Linked DNA regions of Homo sapiens: regions 1, 2 and 4 are each linked to region 3. The links are contacts of gene promoters, found by promoter capture Hi-C in blood cells and fetal thymus (Javierre and others, 2016). All regions are on one chromosome and are shown on one strand. The core of a region is centred on a gene start or on the middle of the fragment in contact, and the rest is flanking DNA. Distances in the headings are between cores, read along the strand shown.

Region 1 (3,255 bases), core at 154-2,653, 210 kb after region 3:
TGAGCATAGTGGCTCAGAGATGAGTCACCTGCCCACAGCCCATCAGCTGATAAACACTGGAGTTGGGTTTGAAACTGTGAAAGCAATGAGGACCACATCATTTTCACTTCCCTTCGTGGCCCCAACTCAAACCAACCCAAAACCCAAGAAAGAAGATGTGGAGATTGTGTTGCCTTTCATAACTGGGAAGCGCGGGTGAGTGGAGGGGACCAGATTCAGGATCTGCTTTTCTTTCTTTCTTTTTTTTTTTTTTTTTTTTTGAGACGGAGTCTTGCTCTATCGCCCAGTGGAGTGCAGTAGCGCGATCTCGGCTCACTGCAACCTCCACCTCCCGGGTTCACACCATTCTCCTGCCTCAGCCTCCCGAGTAGCTGGGGCTACAGGTGCCTGCCACCACGCCCGGCTGATTTTAGCATCTGCCTTTCTTTATCTGTCTATGATCTGTTTGCTCCAGAATGTAACCTTCTAGACCAAAGGTTGGCAAACATTTGAAAAGGGCCAAATAGTAAATATTTTTGGGCCTCGAGGGCTCTCTGCTGCAACTCTGCTATTCTAGCACAAATGCGTCACATACAATACATAAATGCATGGGCAGAAAACAATTTGTTAGCCGGGCACAGTGGCTCACGTCTGTAATCCCAGCACTTTGGGAGGCCAAAACAGATTAGGGTTTTCCAAGGCTGCAGGAAGGCAGGAATGTGGAGTGACTGCTTAGTAAGTATGGGGGGCTGGGCATGGTGGCTCACGTCTGTAATCCCAGTACCTTGGGAGGCCAGGGGAGGAAGATTACTTGAGGCCAGGAGTCTGAGACCAGCCTAGGCAACATAGCAAGGCCCCATCTCTACAAAACATTTGAAAATTAGCTGACCACGGTGGCACATGCCCACGTCCCCAGCTACTCAGGAGGCAGAGGTGGGAAGATTGCTTGAGCCCAGGAGGCTGAGGCTGCACTCAACCATGATTGTGCCACTGCAGTCACCCTGGGTGACAGAAGAAGACCCTCTCTCAACAAAAACAAAAATAAATAAATAGGCCGGGCGCAGTGGCTCATGCCTGTAATCCCAGCACTTTGGGAGGCCGAGGCGGGTGGATCATGAGGTCAGGAGATCAAGACCTTCCTGGCTAACACGGTGAAACCCCGTCTCTACCAAAAATACAAAAAATTAGCCAGGCATGGTGGCAGGCACCTGTAGTCCCAGCTACTCAGGAGGCTGAGGCAGGAGAATGGCATGAACCCGGGAGGCGGAGCTTGCAGTGAGCCGAGATTGCACCACTGCCCTCCAGCCTGGGCGACAGAGTGAGACTCCGTCTCAAAATAAATAAATAAATAAATAAATAAATAAATAAATAAATAAATAACTATGGGGTGTCCTTTTGGGGAGATGAGAATGTTCTGGAACTAGGTAGTAGGGATGGTTGCACAACATTGTAAATGTACTAAATGTCACTGAATTGTATACTTTAAATGGTATGCTTTAAATGGTAAAGTTTATGTTATGTGTATTTTACTACAATAGAGGAAATGAAGGGAATCCTTCAGGATGAAATGAAAGAACACTAGACAGTAACTCAAATCCATATGAAAGGCCAGGCGTGATGACTCTTGCCTGTAATCCCAGCACTTTGAGAGGCCAAGGCCCACCTGAGGTCAGGAGCTTGAGACCAGCCTGGCTAAACATGATGAAACCCCGTCTCTACCAAAAAATACAAAATTAGCTGGGTGTGGTGTCGTGTGCCTGTAGTCCCAGCTACTTGGGAGGCTGAGGTAGGAGAATCACTTGAACCCCGTTGACGTGAGCTGAGATCACACCACTGCCCTCCAGTCTGGGCGACAAAGTGAGACCCTGTCTCAAAAAAAAAAAAAGTCCACATGAAGAAATAAAGAACCCCTTCCCACCACTGGCATTTTCCGCAACTGCCTCCCATATAAATTCCTCTTGTCCTCAAATTTGGGTCTGCTTAGTGTACTGATTAAGCATGGACTTGTGTCAACTTGCCTAGGTTCGAATCCCAGCCCTACCACTTACAAGCTGTATGACCATGGTCAATTGTTAACCTCTCTGTGTCTCAATTTTCTCCTCTGTAAAGCAGGATAATAACTGTGCTTTTCTTGTAGTGTTATTGTGAAGACTGTTAGTGTCTCCCTCACCCACCCAGTCAAAAAACACCAGAATCACACATGTGGTTGAACAAATGTCTTTGCCTCCCCTCCCCTCCCCTCCCATCCTCTCCCCTCCCCTCTCTTTTCCTTTTTCTTTGAGACGGAGTCTCGCTCTGTTGCCCAGGCTGGAGTGCAGTGGTGCAATCCGGCTCACTGCAACCTCCACCTGCCAGGTTCAAGCAATTCTCCTGCCTCAGCCTCCTGAGTAGCTGGGACTACAGATGCGTGCCACCATGCCCGGCTAGTTTTTGTATTTTTAGTAAAAACAGCGTTTCACCATGTTGGCCAGGCTGGTCTTGAACTCCTGACCTCAAGTGATATGCCTGCCTCGGCCTCCCAAAGTGCTGGAATTACAGGCATGAGCCACCATGCCCAGCCAGTTGAAAAAATTTCAATGTATTACTTGTCACAGCGAAGGAGAATACACACCACGGGTAGCTGTTACTGAAACACCAGTTCAGTCGGCTGCTTGCCACACAGAAAGCCAATCACTGAGACACTAGTATTGCCCATGAAGAAGGCTTTAATTAGGTGCCAACCAAGGAGATGGGAGATCAGTCTCAGATCTATCTCCCTGACTGATTGAAATTAGGAGTTTAGGCTGGACGTGGTGACTTACGCCTGTAATCCCAGCACTTTGAGAGGCCGAGGCAGGCGGATCACCTGAGGTCGGGAGTTCGAGACCAGCCTGACCAACATGGAGAAACCCCATCTCTACTAAGAATACAAAATTAGCCTAGGGGTGGTGGCACATGCCTGTAATCCCAACTACTCAGGAGGCTGAGGCAGGAGAATTGCTTGAACCTGGGAGGCAGAGGTTGCGATGAGCTGATGTCGTGCCATTACACTCCAGCCTGGGCAACAAGAGCGAAACTCCATCTCAAAAATAAATTAGTTAATTAAAAATTAGGGGTTTATATAGCAGGGAAGAAATGTGACAATATGTGAGAAAACAACAGTTAGGTAGGGGTAAGGAAGAGAAGTTGGTCAACAGGAAGCAGATCGTCAATTGGGCAATCATGATGGGTGAGGGGTCTGACATCTCATTGTCCAGGTGTGATCTGCTAAGTTTCAGCTCCTTGATACTATCTGGG
Region 2 (3,649 bases), core at 946-3,445, 230 kb after region 3:
GCAGGAGCGCAGTGGTATGATCTCTGCTTACCGCAACCTCTGCCTCCCGGGTTCAAGTGATTCCCGAGCTTCAGCCTCCTGAGTAGCTGGGATTATAGGCGTGCGCCACCACACTTGGCTAATTTTTGTTTTTGTTTTTGTTTTTTTTGAGACGGAGCCTCGCTCTGTCGCCAGGCTGGAGTAGAGTGGAGCGATCTCAGCTCATTTTAACCTCCGCCTCCAGGTTCAAGCGATTCTGCTGCCTCAGCCTCCCAAGTAGCTGGGACTACAGGCACCCGCCTCCATGCCCAGCTAATTTTTGTATTTTTAGTAGAGACGGGGTTTCACCATGTTGGCCAGGATGGTCTGGATCTCTTGACCTCGTGATCTGCCCGCCTCGGCCTCCCAAAGTGCTGGGATTACAGGCGTGAGCCACCGCGCCCGGACCCTGGGGAGGTTTATTAACAGTTCCAGAACGTTGGCAGATGCAAAATAGACAGGAAGAGGGAGGGAGAGGCAGAGAGAGCTGGACAGAGGCCGGGACCATACGTGGATGTCAGTCACTGCTTGCAAGGCCACACAGAGTCTCCTACTACAGAGAAGGTTGAGCTCTCAGACCTTAGGAAGTCCTGACGTGCCCCTCCCTGGGTCCAGCCTTCCCTTCCCCATTCTGAACTTAGGACATCTAGCTGGGCGAGGTGGCTCATGCCTGTAATCCCAGCACTTTGGGAGGCTGAAGTGGGAGAACCTGGCACCAGGAGTTTCCGACTAGCCTGAGCAACATACCAAGACCCCAGCCTCTACCAAAAAAATTAGCCGGGCATGGTGTGCACGCACCTGTAGTCCCAGCTACTGGGGAGGTTGAGGCGGGAGGATCATTGGAGTCCAAGAGTTCGAGGCTGCATTGAGCTATGTTCGCATCACTGCACTGCAAACTGGGACACAGAGCGAGACCCTGTCTCTGAAAAATAAATAAATAAAAACACACTTATGACGTCACCCTCTCTGCTATGACAAGGTCCTTCCCTGCCCCACCCCCTCCAGGGCCCATCCCTACATCTTGGGGAGGAAATAAGTCCATTTTGGTCAGTCTTGCCCGCTGTCAGTAACTGTCCCTACGAATTCCTCTCTAGCTTGAAGGATTCTCCACCTCTCCCTTCTCTGTTAAAAGAGTCACGGGCCCATTTTCATTCATTCATTCATCAAATGTTTATAAGCAGTTTCCATGCTGGGGACCTGGAAGAGACCCGACCTAGGCCCTGCATCCCGACTCCCCGAGGATCTATCAGCCTGGGAGGATGGGGAATGGGAGGGCCTATCCCTCCCCACGATCACGGCGCGAACCGAGCTTTGATGGAGAAACACGCGGCTCTGTGAGCTTTAGAGAACACATTTAACCTGGCCTGGAGTAAGACAGGGGACGGGCCTGAATCTTTTATGGGACCCGCCCCCAATATCAACCGCCCCGTCCCCAGCACAGAACTGGGCTCCTAGACGACACGGTGCCATCACGTCCCCAGTGAGTCTTCAGGATTTCTGGCCACGCCCCTTCTCAGACCCAACCCCCGAGCCCCTCCCTTGCTTGACCCCGCCCCATCTCTGGCCTAGGCCACGCCCTCCTCTTAGCCCCACCCCCATTTCATTCAACCCAGGCCTCAAGCCCCACCGCCCAGGACGCCAATGCTCCCACCAATCTCACATACCCATTGGTCAGAGAGTGTCACTTTCCCGCCCTCCTTCAGTAGCATTGGTTCCCTAGGTGTCAATCTTCTTTATGGCGCCCCCAGCAGTTGCCAGGGCCCAGGTTTGAGGGGCAGATAATAATGGACGTCTCGGGGCGTCTCGTTATTGGGCAGAAAGCCCGGCTCTGGGCGGGGCTTAGTGCCAAACGCTTGGCCGCGTCTGCCTGGTGTTCCTCAGGGCCGCAGCCTTTCCTCACGGACACACCCCCACTTTCCTTGCTATTGGTCTTATCAGGTGTTGATCAATAGGATTCCTCATTCCGATACGCAAAACTACCTGTCCTTCACCGCTTCCCTCATTTCAATTCGCTCTCTCCTCAGAGGCGGCAACCTTCTGAACGTAGCCAGGGCCCGCCTCACGGAATGGCCACGGAATGGTCAGACACCCCGTCACTCCTGGCTGGTGGGCGGGGCCAGGGCGCCTGGGGGCGGCGAATTGGCGGATGGGGCCTCGGGGGCGGGGCAGCGGCTCCTGTCAGCGGGTGAAATGGCAGCGGCGGAGCCGGCGGCGGCCGCGGTCCCGGGGGGCGGCTGAGGGGGCCGGGCCGGGGCTGCGGGGCGAACGGCGCGGCTAGGATCCGGCGGCTCAGCCCGGGGCGGCGAGGCTCGGCACGGAGATGGCGGCGCGCTCGGCGCAGGTAGGGCGGCGCGGGCCGGGCCTCCCGGGCGCCTGCTCAGGCCGGCGGCTCCGTGATGCGGCCCGCGGGGAACCGGCAGGACCGCAACTCGGGCCGTCGTGCCCCGGAACCCGCGCTGGGAGCCTCGGCATCCCCAGCCCGGGACCTTCGGAGGACCCTGGCCCCTGCCCACCCTCGTTGCCGATCCCTCCGGACCCCTCCCCAGGAGCTCCTGCAGGATCCCCCTCCCCCACTCCGTCCCCTCCCCATGAGGACCCCGCAGGCCCAGGACCCCCGTCCACCCTTTGCAGTGACCCTCAGGACTCCTCTCCGGGAACCCCCTCAGGGCTCCCCATCCCCCCACTCCGCCGATCAGCCCCTCAGAAGCGCCCCCCAAGCCCAAGAACCCCCGTCCACCTTCTGCCCTGATCTCTCAGGACCCCTCCCTTCTGGACAACACTTGCCACCCCCTCCCCGCACCCCCTCACTTCACGTCCTCCTATCTTGGGCCCAGAACTGCCCCCACCTCTCCCCAAGGAGACCAGCCTCAGGGCCTACCCGCCCCCCATGCTGACCCCACAGGACCCCTCTCTGGCCTCTGTAAGTCGGATTTCCTACCCCTGCCCACAGCCCTCAGCTCAGCCTGCTAGCCCATCTCCCACCCCAGCTGCCACATGCCCAAGGGCACCCCTAAACACCACTCCCCGGCGTCCACCCAGCACACTGTGGTAGCTCCACTGATCCTGCCCCATCTGGATCCTGGCTCCTGGATCCTGAAAAATCCACCCATGCTCAAGACCTCCCGTTGGATATTCTGAACCACCCCACTCCCCATCCAGAGCCACCCATCTTTCTGAAAACCCCAAACACACACACACACACACACACACACACACACACACACACACACACAGTCACTTAGATCCCCCAGCACACACAGAAAAACTTAAGAGCTCCAACATAGACCCCAGGCATATCTGCCCCTGCCCCCACCCACTCAACACTTCTGCACCCCTCCTCAGATCCCACCTGTCCAGGCCCTCCCAGAGTCCCCGACAGCTCCCCCAGCTCAAGCAGAGATTCCAGAGACCATGAGGTGCCTGCCGCACCCCAGGAAGCCAACTTGCCCCTCCACCAAACCAGCGCCCACACTGGAGCCTTGGAGGGTGACAGGGCCCCAGAATCCCCCAGCACCTACCCCTGTGGGAACCTGCCCCAGGCCTCTGCCAAGTTATCCATCCTTCCCTGCTGTGCCCTTTCAAAGGGAAGGACGCTCACTTTCTCTCCTACACTAGTGTCCCGAAGGAACCA
Region 3 (3,515 bases), core at 34-2,533:
CTGCCTCCCTGGTTCAAGCGATTCTCCCGCCTCAGCCTCCCGAGTACTTGGGATTACAGGCATGCACCATTATGCCCGGCTAATTTTTAAAAATTTTATTTTTAGTAGAGACGGGGTTTTGCTATGTTGGCCAGGCTACTCTTGAACTCCTGGCCTCAAGTGATCTGCCCGCCTTGGCCTCCCAAAGTGCTGGGATTACACTCGTGGCCACCGCTCTCGGCCTGAAATACACACACTCTCAATGTCTCTCCATACTCCTGCATTGACAGAGGCATCAATAACAGCCTCATACAACACACCAGTACGTTCAGATGCACAGAGATAGACATACTCACAGCACTCCAAAAACACACACACAGCCGGGCACGGTGGCTGCCGCCTGTAATCCCAGCACTTTGGGAGGCTGAGGCGGGTGATCACCTGAGGTCAGGAGTTTGAGACTAGCCTGGCTAACATGGTGAAACCCCAACTCTACTAAAAATACAAAAATTAGCCGGGAGTGGTGGCGCAACCCCGTAATCCCAGCTACTCGGGAGGCTGAGGCAGGAGAATCGCTTGAGCCTGGGAGGCGGAGGTTGCAGTGAGTCGAGATCGCGCCACTGCACTCCAGCCTGGGAGACAGAGTGAGTGAGACCCTGTCTCAAAAACAAAAACAAAAACAAAAACAAAAAACAGACACACACTCATCACTTCCATCCATCCTCAGGATACAGACATCTATATAATACATATCCTTGTACACACAACAAATTAAACACACACTTACACGTGCCCAGATACATACCCCACACACACACACCCCTAGACACCCCCCAATACACTTGGTCACCACCCAAATGTATTCAGAGATACACAGATACGAAGACACTCATATTCTTGTGCCTTCACTAACATAATCAGAAACAGGTGCACCCAACCACTCTCTGCCTGAGGGCCGGCGTTTATTGCAAGCACTTGCAGGAGCTCCTACGCCTAAGGGTAGACACTGGGGCTGGCACACACAGAGGGTCCCTAATCCTTTCCAGTAAGCTAGGCGCGCGCGCACACACTCACACACGCGCGCGCGCACACATACACACTCAGTCCTCCGCAAGCTCCCTCCACCATCGCCGCAGTCCAGGCCGCCCCCCTCCGCCCCGCCCCTGCTGCTCCGTGCACACTGCAGTGAGGGGCCCGGGCGGGGCGCAGGGGCGCGCCAGGGTCCGGGTCCGGGTTCGGGGGCGGGGCGCACCTGGGCTCCTCCCCGGGGCGGGCCCGACGCAGCGTCGCCAGCGCAAGCGGCCGCACCTGGCTCAGCAGCGGCGGCGGCGGCGGCGGCGGCAGCGGCGGTAGCAGCAGCGGGCCCGGCTGGGGCGCGAGCGCGGCGCAGCCCAGCCCAGCCCAGTCCGAGCGCGGACCCGGCGCCCGCAGCCCCGGCGCCGCCATGGTGGAGGCGGCGCCCCCCGGGCCCGGGCCGCTGCGGAGGACCTTTCTAGTGCCCGAGATCAAGTCGCTGGACCAGTACGATTTCTCGCGGGCCAAGGCGGCGGCCAGCCTGGCGTGGGTGCTGCGGGCCGCGTTCGGGGGCGCAGGTACCGGGGCTCGGGGGACCGGGGTCGGGGGCGGCGGGCCGGGCGCGGCAGGTGCTGGGGGGGGGCGGGGCGCCGGGCCGGGAAGGCAGGGGGCCGTGGGAACAATAGCGCCGGCCGCCGGGGGTCCCCGGGCTCGGGCCCCTGCCGCGCCGGGGCCTCCGAGCTTCCTGCTCGGCCCGGGCGGTGGACTTTGCCCCGCCGGCTGCGGGAGCGCGGTGGGGGTGGGGCCCGCGGCCCAGCTCCGCGCGGGGGTCCCCGGCGTCCAAGCCTCCAGGTGAGCCGGGCGGGGTCTGCGGGCCGGGTGGGGTCTCCCCGTGCGGACCTCTCGTTCCCGCCTCCCGCACCCCCAAGGCCTTCCCTTGCACGCCTTCTTCTCTTTTACACACATCACGCCCCTGCGAGGATCTCCTCTCGGTCTCTTCCCCCGCCACACACCCTGGAGACCCAGACCCCGACCTCGCTGGGGGGTCTCGAGCGCTCCGGTCTCCACCACCGCACGACCCCCAGGCCCCAACACACACCCCGCGTCGGCCCTGGCCGCGCTGCGGGCGGCGACCGGGGAGCTCTGGGAACCCCCTTTCGCCTCCATAGCCCCCTCCAGCGCCTGGCAGCTGCGACTTATGGCCCCATTTTACTGGGGAGGTTGGCGAGCCCAGCTGAAGGGAAATGGGTAGTACAAGATCGCCTGGGGTGGGCCCCCCGCTCCTCCCGGCTGCGGGGCCTTCTCCCATTAGAGCAGATCCTTCACTCCCTCCCCCAGGCCCGCTTGCCTGAGAGCCCGAGCCACCCTAATGGGGAGGATGCCGTAATCCCGGGTCCCCGGGATTAGAGGCCCTGGAAACACTCAGTCTCGGCTTTGGGCAGCTTCACAACCCCAGGCCAGAGCTAGGAGTCAGGGCCTGGCCAGAGAAGACAGGGGTTAATTAAGGTCTGGGCTTTCCAGCGGGGAGCTGTGGGGGTACATCCTTTTCTCCCACTGGTTCTGCCCACTGGTGTTGGCACAGCCCATCCCCCCTCTCCCTGGCCTTCCCAGATCAACCTGTTCTGGGTGTGGGTCTCAGTGACAGCTGTCCGTCTCCTGGTTCCGCCCCAGCCTGTCCCTCTTTCTCCCAGACAGTCTCTGTCTGCGTCGTTCCATGCATGCATTTCCCACTCTGGGGTCTACCTCCCTGCAGATATTTGCTTGAGGAAGAAAGAGATTGGGCATTGGACAGCCAGGACAGCCCCAGCTCCTCACTTCCAAGGTTACCAGGCTGTAGAGAACTCAACGTGGAGTGTCAGAATTGAATGTGAAGTCCAGCTGCACCAGAATGCGAATTATCCCAATTATCTGAGCTTCTGTTTCCCCTTCTATAAAAGAAGGCGTTCATTCACAGACTTATCTGTTTTGCGAATGTTTGTGGGGCAGGGGCACTTGCTATGTGTAGGGCACTGCTCCAGTGATGGAGACCCCCCGTTACCTCTTTGCAAGGTTGCTGGGAGGCGTAAAAGCTGTAGTGACCACAGAATTCTTCGCGTGGCACGGGGCGCGTGATACATGCGAAACGGTTGCTCGCTGCTGGTGTGATTGGCGGTGGTATATTTTGATGAATAATATTAACGTTATCCATTATCCCCTGGCCAGGAATCAGAGTAGAAATTATCCCATTTTGAAGACAGCAAAGCAAACTTCTGATGAGGGGTGTTGGTGAGCTCCCAGTGCCCTGACTCACCCAGTTCTGTTCTTGTTGACCCAGCTCCCTCTGCTGTGTGACACACGGCAGTGGCTGCCTCTACCGTGAGGGTCAAGTTCAATCTGTTCCCTGTTCCACTCCCCTAAAAAGAGGAGAAGGGCTGAAGGAAATGGGAGCAGAGTTCTACAAGATTCATGAGCTCTGGGGACTCTTGACGGTATGATACCTATCAGGTGCTGGGCTGGGCGCTCAGGGTGTAGAGGAGACGGCA
Region 4 (3,269 bases), core at 563-3,062, 230 kb before region 3:
ACAGGGAGGTAAGAGGACAGGCTGAGGAGGGCTCTGAATGTCATTCTAAGGGGACTGGAGTCTATAGGGGTGGGGATCAGTAGAAGGGGAGTGACCATCAGAGGGTTATATCAAAAGGACACACCAACTCCAGGACAGAAGATGGACTACAGGGGAGAGACTGGTAGCTGAGGATCAGTGACAAATGTGATTGGCAATCGTTTGGGGCAATTGTGGTTGGTAATTGACAGAGCTCAGTCTATGACACTGGGATTAGGGCTTAGCTCATAATATTGGAATCAGGACACAGCCTATGACATCAGGATTGGAGCTCAGTCTATGATGCCAGATCAAGATTCAGTCTATGACACCAGGATTGGGGCTCAGTCTATGATACCAGGATAAGAGCTAAGACTATGACACCAGGATTAGGGCTTAGCCTATGACACTAGGATCAGGGATCAATATATGACACCAGGATAAAGGCTTAGTCTATGACACTAGGAGGGGGGTTCATTCTATGATACAAGAATGAATGCTCAACCAATGACAGCCAGATGAAGTTCAGTCTGTGATATCAGGATCAAGGCTCAGTATATGACACCAGGATCATGGCTCAGTCTGTGACACAAAGATTGGAGTTCAATCTGTAAAACTAGGATCAGAGTTGAGTCAGTCATTGGGAACTAGGATCACAGTTGAGTTCATCATCAGGTCAAGCTCAACCTGTTCCTCGGTCAGAAGCTTCCCTATAAAAACAAAACTCAGCCAGGCACAGTGGCTCATGCCTGTAATCCCAGCACTTTGGGAGGCCGAGGTGGGAGGATCATATGAGACCAGGAGTTCGAGACTAGCCTAGCCAACATGGTGAAACCCCATTTCAACTAAAAATGCAAAAATTAGCTGGACATGGTGGTACACATCGGTGGTCCCAGCTACTCAGAAGTCTGAGACAGGAGAATCGCTTGTACCCAGGAGGTGGAGACTGCAGTGAGCCAAGATGGAACCACTCCAGCCTGGGTGACAGAGCAAGACTCTCTTGAAACAAAACAACAACAACAACAACAACAACAAAACATGCACAATCACACAACCCTGGCATTTCTTTTCTTTTCTTTTTTCATTCTTTTCCTTTTTTTTTTTCTTTGAGACAGAGTCTCACTCTGTCACCCAGGCTGGAGTGCAATGGCACAATCTCAGTTCACTGCATCCTGCCCTTCCCTGGCTGAAGAGATTCCCATGTGTCAGCCTCCCTAGTAGCTGGAATTATAAGCACATGCCACCATGCCCAGCTAATGTTTGTATTTTCAGTAGAGACTAGGTTTCGCCATGTTGGTCAGGCTGGTCTCAAACTCCTCACCTCAAGTGATCCGCCTTCCTCGGCCTCCCAAAGTGCTGGGATTACATGTGTGAGCCACTGGGCCCGGCCAACCCTGGCCTTTCACCTTTGATCTTTGGATCCCAGACCTTCAGGGTTCACAGATACAGGGCATGAGGTCCTGCAGGCTACAGGAGGCCTCAGGCCTCCACAAGGACCCTGTCCAGTGAAGCAAGCCAACCCTGCAGGCTCTCCTCCAGCCCTAAGGGGACTTGGCTGAGGAATGGGACTGCCTTTCCCCTCCCAAGCTCCCACCAACCTCCAGGACCCTCCCCCACATCTGGCTTTCCTCCTCCTTCACAGCCTGCTTGTTTCGTTTCTGTGAGTCATAGATGCTGCTTCGGCTTCTGGGTGGGGAAGAGAACAGATGCAAAGCTTAACAACAGCAGCTGAACAGAGTCCCTCCAACCAGCCCGGGAGGGCAACCTGGAAAGCAGTGATGGTGGAAACCCTGGCATTGCTCGTTACTGTCCAGCCACTCATCTGTGAATACAGGTGGCATCAGGGGGCAAATTTACCTTGAAGCAATGGAAACTGAAGCTTCAGGCCCCATGTGTACCTGCCCCATCCAAAGCTCTGCAAGAGGCTCCAACAAAAAACTTTTTAGGAACAGCTTTATTGAGCTACCATATACTTCACCCATTTAAAGCATACAATTCAGTGGTTTTAGGCCAGGTGCAATGGCTCATGCCTGTAATCCCAGCACTTTGGGAGGCCAAGGCGGGGGGATTGCCTGAGCTCAGGAGTTCCGGACCAGCCTGGCCAACGTAGCAAGACCCCCGTCTCTACTAAAAATAAAAAAAATTAGCCAGGTGTGGTGGTGCATACGTGTAATCCCAGCTACTCAACAGGCTGAGGCAGGAGAATCACTCAAATCCCGGAGGTGGAGGTTGCAGTGAGCCAAGATGGCGCCACTGCACTCCAGCCTGGGCAACAGAGTGAGGCTCTATCTCAAAAAAGAGACTGCATAACAGCGGTTCCTCAAAAAGCTAAGCATAGATTAGCATGTACTCCAGCAATTCCCTTCCTAGGTAACGACCCAAGACAATGGAAAACACACATCCGTGCAATTGCGTACATCTGTATGCAATTGTTCATGGCAGCGTGATTTGAAATAACCAAATGGTGAAAACGACCCAAATGTCCATCAACAGATCAATGGATACACGAAATGTGGTATCTCCATGCAATTGAATATTATTCAGCCCTAAAACAAATAAAGCACTGGCCGGGCACCGTGGCTCACACCTGTAATCCCTACACTTTGGGAGGCTGAGGCATGCAGATCACCTGAGGTCAGGAGTTCTAGACTAGCCTGGCCAACATGGTGAAACCCCAACTCTATTAATCACACAAAATTAGCCAGGTGCAGTGGTGTGCACCTGTAATCCCAGCTACTCAGGAGGCTGAGGCAGGAGAATGGCTTGAACTCGGGAGGCGGAGGTTGTGGTGAGCTGAGATCACGCCACTGCACTCCAGCTTGGGGGCAACAGAGCAAGACTCTGTGGAAGAAGAAGAAGAAGAAGAAGAAGGAGAAGGAGAAGGAGAAGGAGAAGGAGAAGGAGAAGGAGAAGGAGAAGGAGAAGGAGAAGGAGAAGGAGAAGGAGAAGGAGAAGGAGAAGGAGAAGGAGAAGGAGAAGGAGAAGGAGAAGGAGAAGGAGAAGGAGAAGGAGGAGAAGAAGGAGAAGAAGGAGAAGAAGGAGAAGAAGGAGAAGAAGAAGGAGAAAAGAAGAGGAAGAAGAGGAAGAAGAAGACAAGAAGAGGAAGAGGAAGAAGAAAGGAAGAAGGAAGGAGAAGAAGAGGAGGAGGAAGAAGGAGAAGGAGGAAGAAGAAGGAAGAAGGTGGAGGAGGAGGAGGAAGAGGAGGAGGAGGAAAAACAATGTGGGCATTGGGTACTTGCATTTGGTCTACG

The links. The method cuts DNA at HindIII sites, captures the fragments that hold promoters and counts their contacts. A CHiCAGO score of 5 or more calls a contact.
Region 1: a contact is called between a fragment that was not itself captured here and the fragment with the promoter of CAMSAP3 in region 3, in 3 of 17 cell types (neutrophils, M1 macrophages and monocytes). The highest score is 5.9, in neutrophils.
Region 2: the fragment with the promoter of EVI5L here is called in contact with the fragment with the promoter of CAMSAP3 in region 3 in 1 of 17 cell types (monocytes); the score reaches 7.1 in monocytes.
Region 4: a fragment that was not itself captured here is called in contact with the fragment with the promoter of CAMSAP3 in region 3 in 2 of 17 cell types (M1 macrophages and M2 macrophages); the score reaches 6.0 in M1 macrophages.

Annotation. Positions count from the first base shown.
Region 1 is chr19:7,807,691-7,810,945 of GRCh38, forward strand. The region is part of intron 1 of LOC124904628 (a long non-coding RNA gene); the gene reads left to right. Among named protein-coding and RNA genes, the nearest start is that of EVI5L, 21 kb to the right of the region's middle. The HindIII fragment of the contact is 5,208 bases long and covers 1-3,255 here.
Region 2 is chr19:7,828,023-7,831,671 of GRCh38, forward strand. EVI5L (ecotropic viral integration site 5 like) reads left to right here and starts at 2,196. Exons shown (of 20, transcript NM_001159944.3): 1 at 2,196-2,359. RefSeq lists a silencer at 2,053-2,292. The HindIII fragment of the contact is 20,032 bases long and covers 1-3,649 here.
Region 3 is chr19:7,594,580-7,598,094 of GRCh38, forward strand. CAMSAP3 (calmodulin regulated spectrin associated protein family member 3) reads left to right here and starts at 1,284. Exons shown (of 17, transcript NM_020902.2): 1 at 1,284-1,571. The coding sequence starts at 1,424. RefSeq lists a silencer at 984-1,423 and an enhancer at 2,263-2,868. The HindIII fragment of the contact is 11,146 bases long and covers 1-3,515 here.
Region 4 is chr19:7,359,128-7,362,396 of GRCh38, forward strand. All of the region lies in intron 1 of ARHGEF18 (Rho/Rac guanine nucleotide exchange factor 18), which reads left to right. Among named protein-coding and RNA genes, the nearest start is that of ARHGEF18, 12 kb to the left of the region's middle. The HindIII fragment of the contact is 165 bases long and covers 1,731-1,895 here.